Regions from separate parts of the Homo sapiens genome. Here regions 1 and 2 are each linked to region 3. The links are contacts of gene promoters, found by promoter capture Hi-C in blood cells and fetal thymus (Javierre and others, 2016). All regions are on one chromosome and are shown on one strand. Each heading gives the region's core, a stretch centred on a gene start or on the middle of the fragment in contact. The rest is flanking DNA. Distances are from core to core; before and after follow the strand shown.

Region 1 (3,019 bases), core at 270-2,769, 220 kb after region 3:
ACAGCTCATCTTTAGAAAAACTTGCACAACTTACAAATCCTTAAGATTCAGAAAAGAGACAGCCTGAAAAGTAACATATTCAGACTTTTAATGATAGCTTCTCTTGCCCTTTATCGTCTAACATTCTGGACCATGATGATGGGTGATGCACACTGATTCTGATGTCTTAAGTTTGGACTTTGGGAGTCAATTTGGATCAGACATCCTGCCTGAAAAGCTGTGTTGCTCTCCAATTAGTGCCGGCAATTCTGGTTGGCCTTTAAAAGCTTAACATTCTTGGATTCACAGAAAGGTGTGATTTAAAAAATAGAGTAAGAATTCATTCAGGTGCTGAAACACAGTTTGCTATGACTAAGGTGGTGTCTTGGGCGTTTTCTGACTGTTTCCTGGAGGTTTTGTTTTTTTCTTTTTATACTTTGACCTATTTGTACATGATGTCCTGGAGTTTGAATGACTAATCTCCTGGGCCAGAGCACACTGTATTGGGAGGAAAGTGGTTGAGGTGTGTTCCCATTTTATAATGACTTTATCATTTACAATCCATTCTGTCTCTGATGTGGTGGGAAAGTGCCCTGAGGAACTTTTGCAAGGAATCTTACATGATACGTGATACCTACCAAATTTCTTCAGTTGAAACAGTGCTGTGAATGTTTTAAAGTGAGTCAAACTGGTGTTCAGCCCTCAGTCCTGCAGGTCACTCTGTCATGTCTTGTTGTTTTTCTGGATTGAGTTAAAAGTATGTAGTAGACCTGGGTAACTTATAATGAAGATTCTTGACCTTTATAGCAGGGCAGCCTTACAGAAACATAGCTCTTTCTGTCCTAAAAACCAGTTGGGATGAATTTCTCCAGTCTCTGCCAACTTCTTGTTTATTCTCATAATAAGATAAAAGGGGATTGCGAATGCCCTGTGCTATAGAATCCTCCAGTAACAGATAGAAAATTAATATTAAATAATCTTCATTCATTCATTTACCAGTTATGTATCCATCTGTTGTTATAGGTCATGAATATTAGATAATGACTAATTTTCTTTTCTTTTTTTTTTGAGACAGAGTCTTGCTCTGTGGCCCAGGCTGGAGGGCAGTGGCACGATCTCGGCTCACTGCAACCCCCGCTTCCCAGGTTCAAGCAATTCTCGTCCTCAGCCTCCTGAGTAGCTGGGAATACAGGCGCATGCCACCACGCCCAGCTAATTTTTGTATTTTTAGTAGAGACTAGGTTTCACAATGTCGGCCAGGATGGTCTCGATCTCCTGACCCTGTGATCTACCCACCTCGGCCTCCCAAAGTGCTGGGATTACAGGCGTGAGCCATCGCGCCTGGCCGACTAATTTTATTTTCTTAAGTCACACATTTATTCTGCTCATCAGATTTTGGATCCTCTGACCTCCACTCCCCCTCCCCTTACTGGGAGGCCTGGTGCTGCCTTGTGATTAGCTGAGGTTAGACATGGGGTTACCTGGAAATTGCTGCAGGCACCTGCTCTTTTCTCCTGTCACCCACAGTATGTTAATGTCCAGTAGTGGCATAGATTGGGCCGCCTGATTTCTGATGATGTATCTCTCTCATAAAGGAGCCAGTTCAGCAAGCAACATGCTGGCCCCGCATCATTTTAGCAGTCAAAGCAGTACTACCCCCAGAGTTGGCCCTGACGTTACCCTGGGAGGCAGGGATTTGGGCCTCAGAATCATCCGAACTGTCAGGCTTGATGATTATTTCTGTACGACTTCCAGCCTCTATTTGCCAGGTAGATTTTTATGGAGAGGGTAGTGATCTTCTGGCAGCATGCAGCGAGGGAGGTACAGATCTAAGAGAGCCTTCTCTGTATGTTCGACGGGAAGAGCCAGAGGGTCCGGCAGAGTGCGGTTTCACGGTTGCCCCGACATTCCCACGCTGTGTGCGGGCCATTTTTAAAATTAAGTTTAAAAAAATCAAATGATTTAAAGTAAACAGAAAAAGTATTTACATTTTGAAATTTCTATTTTAAAGAATTGGGAAGAAACACTTTTTTTTTTTTTTAAAGAAAAGCAAAAAGATTTGTAACATTTCTAGTATTTACACAGAGAGCGGTGCAAGTCTTTGAGTCCAGGTAGCTGTAGAAACCAGAACCAAGCTGAGTTTGTGATTTTCTAGGCCTGGAGTTTCTTGTAAGAGTCCACTCTGTGCCATGCCCTAAGGAAGAAAGAAAAGATGAAAGATGGGTCCTTGCCCTCAGGAAGTCATGGCCTGGTGAGGGAGAAGGACTTGTAAATGGAGAATTTCTGTGATAGAGAGAGATGGGACTTGTAGATGGAGAATTTCGGTGGTAGAGATAGATGGATTTTTGAATGGAGAATTTTCATGGTAGAGAGAGATGGATGATGTGTTCCAGGAGCACTTAGGAAGAATGTTTAGCCCATCTAGGCCAGGGGCTTCAATAAAGTTTACTCAGGGGTAGATCTTTTAAGAATGTGGATGAAGGGAAGGGACCCTTGGACTGAGGCTTGAAACCTTTCCCAAGGACTTTGCCATGGACATTTAACTCTTCTAGGCAGCACTTCAGGGAATTAATTCCACTGTTGATTTAGGGGAGTGAATGTTGATTGCTTCCCTCTCCGCCTTAATTAATGGAATGTATTCCATGACCTTGCTGTGTTTAAATTCTTGTCACTGTCAGCCGCCACCTTCATCCTACCTTCAGCAAACTGGAGAGATTGTGGAGAATTTGGAAAAACTGTTTCCCTTGAGAGTAGAGTAAAAGGAGAAGTTACTTTGTTAGAATTGGTACCATGTAAGCTTTCTTACAAATAATCTTAGCCAGGGTCTGGGTGTGGTGGCTCACACCTGTAATCCCAGCACTTTGGGAGGCCGAGGTGGGTAAATAGCTTGAGTTCAGGAGTTCGAGACCAGTCTAGGTAGGCAACATGGCAAAACCCTGTCTCTAGAGGAGGAAAAAAAAATTAGTTGGGCATAGTGGTGTATGCATTGTAGTCCCAGCTACTCAAGAGGCTGAGGTGGGAGGATCACTTGAGCCCTGGA
Region 2 (3,145 bases), core at 366-2,865, 200 kb after region 3:
TATTATATGGAAGGTGTTGCCCTCTCCCCACCTCTCTCCTTCTCTGTCAGGTGAACTGTCTTCTCCTGAGCACTGTTGTTGCCTGAACTGTGTATTTTATACATGCATCTTGTTGTATATCTTGTTCATTTGTTGCCTTTCTCCCCCACTGGGATGTAAGTCACATGAGAGCCAAAGCTCGGTTTTGTTTCTGCCAGATCTCCAGTGCTTAGAAAAAGTGCCTGGCTCGGCTGGGCGCAGTGGCTCACGCCTGTAATCCTAGCACTTTGGGAGGCCAAGGTGGGCGGATCACTTGAGGTCAGGAGTTCAAGACCAGGCCAGCCAACATAGTGAGACCCCGTCTCTACTAAAAATACAAAAGTTAGCTGGGCGTGGTGGCAGGCGCCTGTAATCTCAGCAACTCAGGAGGCTGAGGCGTGAGAATCACTTGAACCTGGGAGGCGGAGGTTGCAGTGTGCTGAGATTGCGCCACGGCACTGCAGCGTGGGTGACAGAGCAAGACTCCATCTCAAAAAGAAAAGAAAAGTGCCTGGCTCATATTAGACAATAAATGTTTGTTAAAGGAATGAGTCAGTTCCTGGACATCCTAGTAGAAGAGAGCCAAGTCAGTCTGTGCCTTCCGGTCTGTGCCTGTTACCACCCTGGTAAAAGCAGCCATGCCGCAGAAAGTCACTTCAGGTGCTCTGATGCTGCCAGTACCGGTGTCATCTGCCTTGAGACCTTGAGGGCCAAACAAGAGACGGGGCAATAGTTGTGGGGTCTGCAGAAGAAGGCAAGTTTCTCTAGAGTTGGAGTTACTGGGGATGGTGCTGTTGAAGCAAGTGGATATTGAGCTAGGACTTGCCACTAGGGTAAGGTGTGATGGGCATTAAAGAGGATGGTTTTTGTCAGGCGTGCAGAATGAGGAAAATGTAAAAGCTAGAACTGTACTATGAATGGCTTTGAATGCCAATTACAGATGCTTCAAGCTCTTAGCTTTCCCTTTGCATGGTCTCGGACCATTGGAGGGTTCAGTTCTGGGATGTAGCCGGTTCCTAGGGATCTCAGCATCGTTGCTTTTTGGTGTTCTGAACTTGCATGCGGGGCAGTCTTGTTATGCCTCAGCTTAAGTGAATATTGTGAATATTGGGTATTTTCTTTTTTTGTTTTTCTTTCTTTTTTTTGAGACCGAGTCTCGCTTTGTCTCCCAGGCTGGAGTGCAGTGGCGCGATCTCAGCTCACTGCAACTTCTGCCTCCCAGGTTCAAATGACTCTCCTGCCTCAGCCTCCCAAGCAGCTGGGTAGCCCGCCACCATGCCCAGCTAATTTTTTTGTATTTTTAGTAGAGATGGGGTTTCGCCATGTTGGCTAGGCTGATCTCAAACTCCTGACCTCATGATTTGCCCGCCTCAGCCTCCGAAAGTGCTGGGATTACAGGCATGAGCAACTGTGCCCGGCCGAATATTGGGTATTTTCTATTCAGGTACAAGTCACTTCTACTTTTCTCTACTATTATTGTAAAAAATTAAGAAGAAAACACTGTTGTATTCGCTCTTCACCTGAGAGGTTCTCAAGAGTAGTTTGGCTTTTTACCATTCAGGATTTATTCTAGATTATGGTGTTTGCACTTGCTTTATCTTTTGCCTGCCTGCACAGTACCTCCCACACATTCGTCCCCTGCAGAGGCAATATTAAACCCCCAGCTCCCCTAGACAATGCTTCGTAACCTTTTCAGGTCAAGACACACAGAGAAAAGATTAGTACAGCACACTGGGGTAAGTAGATGAGGTTGGACTGGGCTAGCAGCAGTCCCAGGCTGGGCTGTAAGGAGTTTGAGGGGCTTTGTATTCCATATGTACCTGGAAGCTGGGTGCACCTATAAACTATTCTTGGCACAAAGTTAGGGAATTGGAGGTGCCCATAGTATTGCTTTGGAAGCCATAGTAGAGACTCAGTAAATACTTAACTGAATTTGTTGAATGAATTAAATAATTTGAAAGTGATGAGTTTTACATCTGGCTGTATATTTAGAGATGAGAGAAAATATGAATGATTTCTCTTGCCCTTCATACTTAGAAGCAATTGATGATCAAGTAGGACCCACCTAGTCACCTGGCATTTGCATTTGTTGCTGTATGGGAGGGTTTTTTATTGTTGTTGTTTGTTTTGGAGACAGGGTCTCACTCTGTTGCCCACACTGGAGTGCAGTGGCATGATTATGACTCACTGCAGCCTCAGCTTCCTGGGCTCAGGTGATGGGAGGTTTGATTTTTGAGACATAAATCAGGTAATAATGTTTTCAAGTGTAGGTATAAACAAGAATTTAGAGCAGTTTCTCAACCCTAGCTACATGTTAGAACCACTTGGAGGGACTTCTGAAAATCCCTGGAGATTTCTATGTAATTGACCTGGGGTACTGCCTGAGCAATAGTTTTGTGTTTGTTGTTTATATTTTCTTTTGTTTTTGGAAACAATCTCGAACTTACAGAGTTTGAATCTGTATGATTTTAAAAAGCCTCTTTTTCCCCTGAGTCATTTGAGAATTAACTGCTGATCCAATGCTGTCACCTGTAGCCCTTTCACCAATACTATAGTCTGTTTCTAACAAAAAGAACATTCTGGTGTAAAACCACAATATAACCATCAAAGGGAAAAAATTAACACACCGATTCATGACCACCACTTACTCTTCAGCTCCATTCAAGGTGTGAGATTTGCCGCACATTGCATTTGGTTGTTAGGTCTTTGCAGTCTCCTTTCATTTGGAACAATTCCTCAATCTTTCCTTGACTGTCACAGCCTTAAAACTTTTGAAGATTGCAGGCCAGTATATTTTGTAGAATGCCTCTGAATGTGGAGTTGTCTGATGGTTCCTTTGATGGTATTCAGGTTAAACACATTTAAAAGGACTCATAGAATCAATGCTGTGTTCTTCTTACAGCATCCTGTCATGTAACTCACAGTTTGAATTTGTCCCATAGCTGATGATGTTCACATGGATTACTTGATTAAGGTGGTATCTTGACAGGCTTCTCCTTGACGTAATTACTCTTCTCAACCCTTTATGACAAGTATTTTATGGGGAGGTGTTTTGAAACTATGTGACTATTCCATTCCTCATTTCAATTTATTCATTTGCTTATTTCTCTCTGTATGAACTTGTGTT
Region 3 (3,213 bases), core at 168-2,667:
AGTGTTGAGCATTGTTACTATGTTACAATGGTTGTTTTATTATTAAAGCAGTGCCAAGGAGGTTACACAACAGCTTGGATCAGGAAGTGAAACAAGGGCGGTGATCCCACTGAAGCTACAGGGGATGGGGATTTGGGACGGTAAAATGTTAATTACCCAAGATGGAATGTGGGCTAGAGTCCAGCGTTGTGCTCCTGGAGATCATTTCGGTCGCAAAAGCTCACTGGCAATGGGTCCTAAGCGTCCTGCCCTCCTCTGGCTGAAATGTTGGATTCACTTCGATGAATGCTGCTATAGGGAAAGAACCCAGTGGCCACCAGCCAGGAGCACACGTCTTGCTCAGCATCAACTATCCTGGAAGATTTCCAGGAGCTGAAGGGCTGTTCTCTTTGCATGCAATAAATTATTCATTTCTAAGACGATTTATTCTGTCTCTCTCTTTAGACTTGATTTCTCCTAGTTTTCCAGCTCTTGAGGACTCTCTCCAAAGAATGAGTTGTAGATGGTTGGTCAGGGGTTGCGAGTGGTGCCTAGGCTTCGCATAAAAGGAGGCAGAAATGTCTACCTTAAAGGGGAGAGGAATGGGTCCTGGGGAGGAAGATGTGGTGGAGGCAATGACAACCTTTCCATAGTAAGTCCCCAACAAAGTCACTTCTAGAAACTGACTGAAGACTTTGAGTTCCAAATGAAACGTTTTTAAGATGCTAGGTTGGCTGACAAGTACATCGTCTAAGGTGGAGGCACTAAAGCATAATAAAAAGAGTGAAGTCTCTGCAGTTTGACCCAGGACCAGATGCCAGGCCCACCAACGACTCTGTATCTGGATGACCTTGGGCAAGTTTTCTAAGCTCTCGCCAGCCTTAATTTCCCATCTATAAAAACTGGATACTGCATTACTCCCAGGTTTAACCAGATAATGTTTGTGAAGAAAGCAGCCCAATACTTGGCACAAAATAGGCAAGGGAGTCACTATTATCGTCAACTACTGGCCAAACAACCAGAGTTGACCCCAAATCCCCAGTAAACAATTAACCGTAGCAGAGCGAATCCGGATCTGACGCACCTATTTGCCCAATAAGGTGCCAGGAAATAACACAGTGGAGTCAAACCAATGGTATTAGCCCTTGTTGATGGACGGGCTTTCTTGCTGTTCCACCAATAGCTTGAAGATTTGACTGGGGAGTGACATCCTGACAGTCCAATGACGCACAACCAGCCCACACTCAGCACTTCGGAGGGGATAAATCAAGGAGCCGGCACGTATGGATTCCGTTATAGGGCAGTACTGGTTGGAGAGAGGAGCTTAGGGAAACAGCGCCGAGGCAAGGCACTAATGAGCTAAAAATAAAGAAAAAAGACGATGGTTGCGCCAAGCGACCTCGGCCGCCATCATGCTCTAATTTCCCCTGAGTCTCTCTGGGTCCTCGACCGAGGAAGCGGCCTCTGGGATGCTGAGGGGGTGTGTCCCCACATGATTGGCTCAGGCAGCTCAGCCAATCCTAGCTCGTTAAACGGGAAGCACTTAACCAATGAGGGGCGAAGGCAGCAACGAGGAATTGGAGGGGCGGAACGACAGCTTGACGGGCACAAAAGCCAGCCAGTGAGAGCCGGAAGCATCCTCCCTGCGGCCAATGGAGTGGGGCTCTGGGCGGGCCCCCGAGTGTTTGTGTTGTGGTTTTGGGGGAGGGATGCGGAGGGGAAAGTTTGTTTATTTTGTTTTTAGTTTTTGGGGTCCCCGTGCTGCTGCAAGGCGAAACGGGAGGGAGTGACCCCTGCGCCCCTCAGTCCCCCCTACGACGTCGCCTCCATAGTCTGCGGAGAAGCGGAGACTGCGCGCCTCGCCTCACAGCGAAACGCCGCGCACTCGGAGCCGGCACGGCTCGGCGGTGAGTGAGGTGCGGCGGCCGCGCCGTCCTTCCCCTCCCCCGCGCCCCGCCGGGACGGAGCGGGGCGGCCGGGGGTCGGCGAGGGCGCCCCCGGGGGCGCGCGGCGCGGCCCGGGGCGGTGAGCGGAGGCGCGGCGTGTGCGTGTCCTCGCGAGGGAGCGCGCGTGGGGCGGGGAGCGGGCCGGGGAGGGGGCGTGAGCGCGCGCGGGGCTGGTGCGGCCGGCGGCGCTGAGCGCGCGCTCCGCGGGAGCGGGCGCCGCCGAGATTTGAGTCGAGGGGCGGGGAGGGACTCGGGGCGACGTCCGGCGCGCGGGCCGGGGCGCCCCGAACGGCCGGGCAGGCACTGGCGGGCGCGCGCGCGGCTCCGGGCGTCACGCGCCAGCAGGTGTGAGCTGGGGGAGGGCTTCCGGGTGGGCTGGCCCGGCCGTCGAGTTCGCTTCCCGTCTCCGGGGGGCCTCGGCGCGGGGACACCTTCCCGGCCCGCGGAGGCGCGTCCGCCCCTGGCTGGCGGTGGCAGAGGGAGGCGTCAGGCCTCGGATCCTCGGGTCCCTGCGCAGCGTCCCGGCCTGTGTGCAGGACCTGCGTGACAAGGTGAATGCGTTCCACACCCCTCGCCAGGGCCCTGCGTGTGCGGCCACTTGGGGAGGCGGCTCAGACTCTGGACAAGGAAACGAGGGGCACGGAGAGTGTTTTTACACCTTCCCGTGGTCCGGTGCCCTTCAGTTCCAGACTACCGGTTTATTCGGCTGTAGAGGCTGGACATCCGATCCAGCGAGACACGCTGTAGTGGTTAAAGACGTCCAGTAACGGTCACCTCTAGTCAAGCGCCTTAAGGACCAGCTTATTCTGAATTCTTTGGAATTCAGGTTACCAGCCTGGGACTTTAAGTTCGTGCTTTCTCATGTGTTTTGGCTGTTTTATTACTTTTTAGCATCAGTGCTAGAGATTGAACGAGAGGATGGTGAATTTCAAGTTGGTCATTTGTATTATAATTTAAGCAAAATTATACAAAATTGGTCAAAGATATTTCTTCATAGTGAATAAAACAAGCCAAGAATCAGTGAATGAAACATTAGTGCCCCCACCAACAGTTAAGTATATATATAAAGTGTGTAGAAATGATAGACATTAGCATTTTGTGAAAGTTTACTAATAGAGGTTACTTCTCTCTTCGCTGTGGGAGATTTCAGTAGTATAAGGTTTCTCTTGATTTGGAGAATCATCAGTGATCTTGGCTTCGAAAGTACAGATGTGTTTTGGGTAGTGTTGTGTAAATGCCTCTTATAGAGCGGAACTTTTAGCGCATTGTCTCTACAGCGCGCAGCATT

What was found. Contacts are between HindIII fragments. The CHiCAGO score rates a contact against its expected background, and 5 or more counts as called.
Region 1: a fragment that was not itself captured here is called in contact with the fragment with the promoter of TNRC6B-DT in region 3 in 4 of 17 cell types (activated CD4 T cells, megakaryocytes, endothelial precursors and 1 more); the score reaches 7.0 in activated CD4 T cells.
Region 2: a fragment that was not itself captured here is called in contact with the fragment with the promoter of TNRC6B-DT in region 3 in 1 of 17 cell types (activated CD4 T cells); the score reaches 5.5 in activated CD4 T cells.

What each region holds. Positions count from the first base shown.
Region 1 is chr22:40,258,196-40,261,214 of GRCh38, forward strand. The region is part of intron 3 of TNRC6B (trinucleotide repeat containing adaptor 6B); the gene reads left to right. LOC124905121 (a long non-coding RNA gene) reads right to left here. Exons shown (of 2, transcript XR_007068107.1): 2 at 847-2,173. Among named protein-coding and RNA genes, the nearest start is that of TNRC6B, 82 kb to the left of the region's middle. The HindIII fragment of the contact is 2,510 bases long and covers 265-2,774 here.
Region 2 is chr22:40,238,693-40,241,837 of GRCh38, forward strand. The region is part of intron 1 of TNRC6B (trinucleotide repeat containing adaptor 6B); the gene reads left to right. Among named protein-coding and RNA genes, the nearest start is that of TNRC6B, 62 kb to the left of the region's middle. RefSeq lists an enhancer at 1-14. The HindIII fragment of the contact is 6,227 bases long and covers 1-3,145 here.
Region 3 is chr22:40,043,113-40,046,325 of GRCh38, forward strand. TNRC6B-DT (TNRC6B divergent transcript) reads right to left here and starts at 1,418. Exons shown (of 1, transcript NR_163486.1): 1 at 18-1,418. It overlaps FAM83F (family with sequence similarity 83 member F), which reads left to right. Exons shown (of 5, transcript NM_138435.4): 5 at 1-422. It also overlaps a transcript of TNRC6B not described here. RefSeq lists enhancers at 413-1,060, 1,142-1,441, 1,752-1,871 and silencers at 2,172-2,391, 2,402-2,471. The HindIII fragment of the contact is 12,286 bases long and covers 1-3,213 here.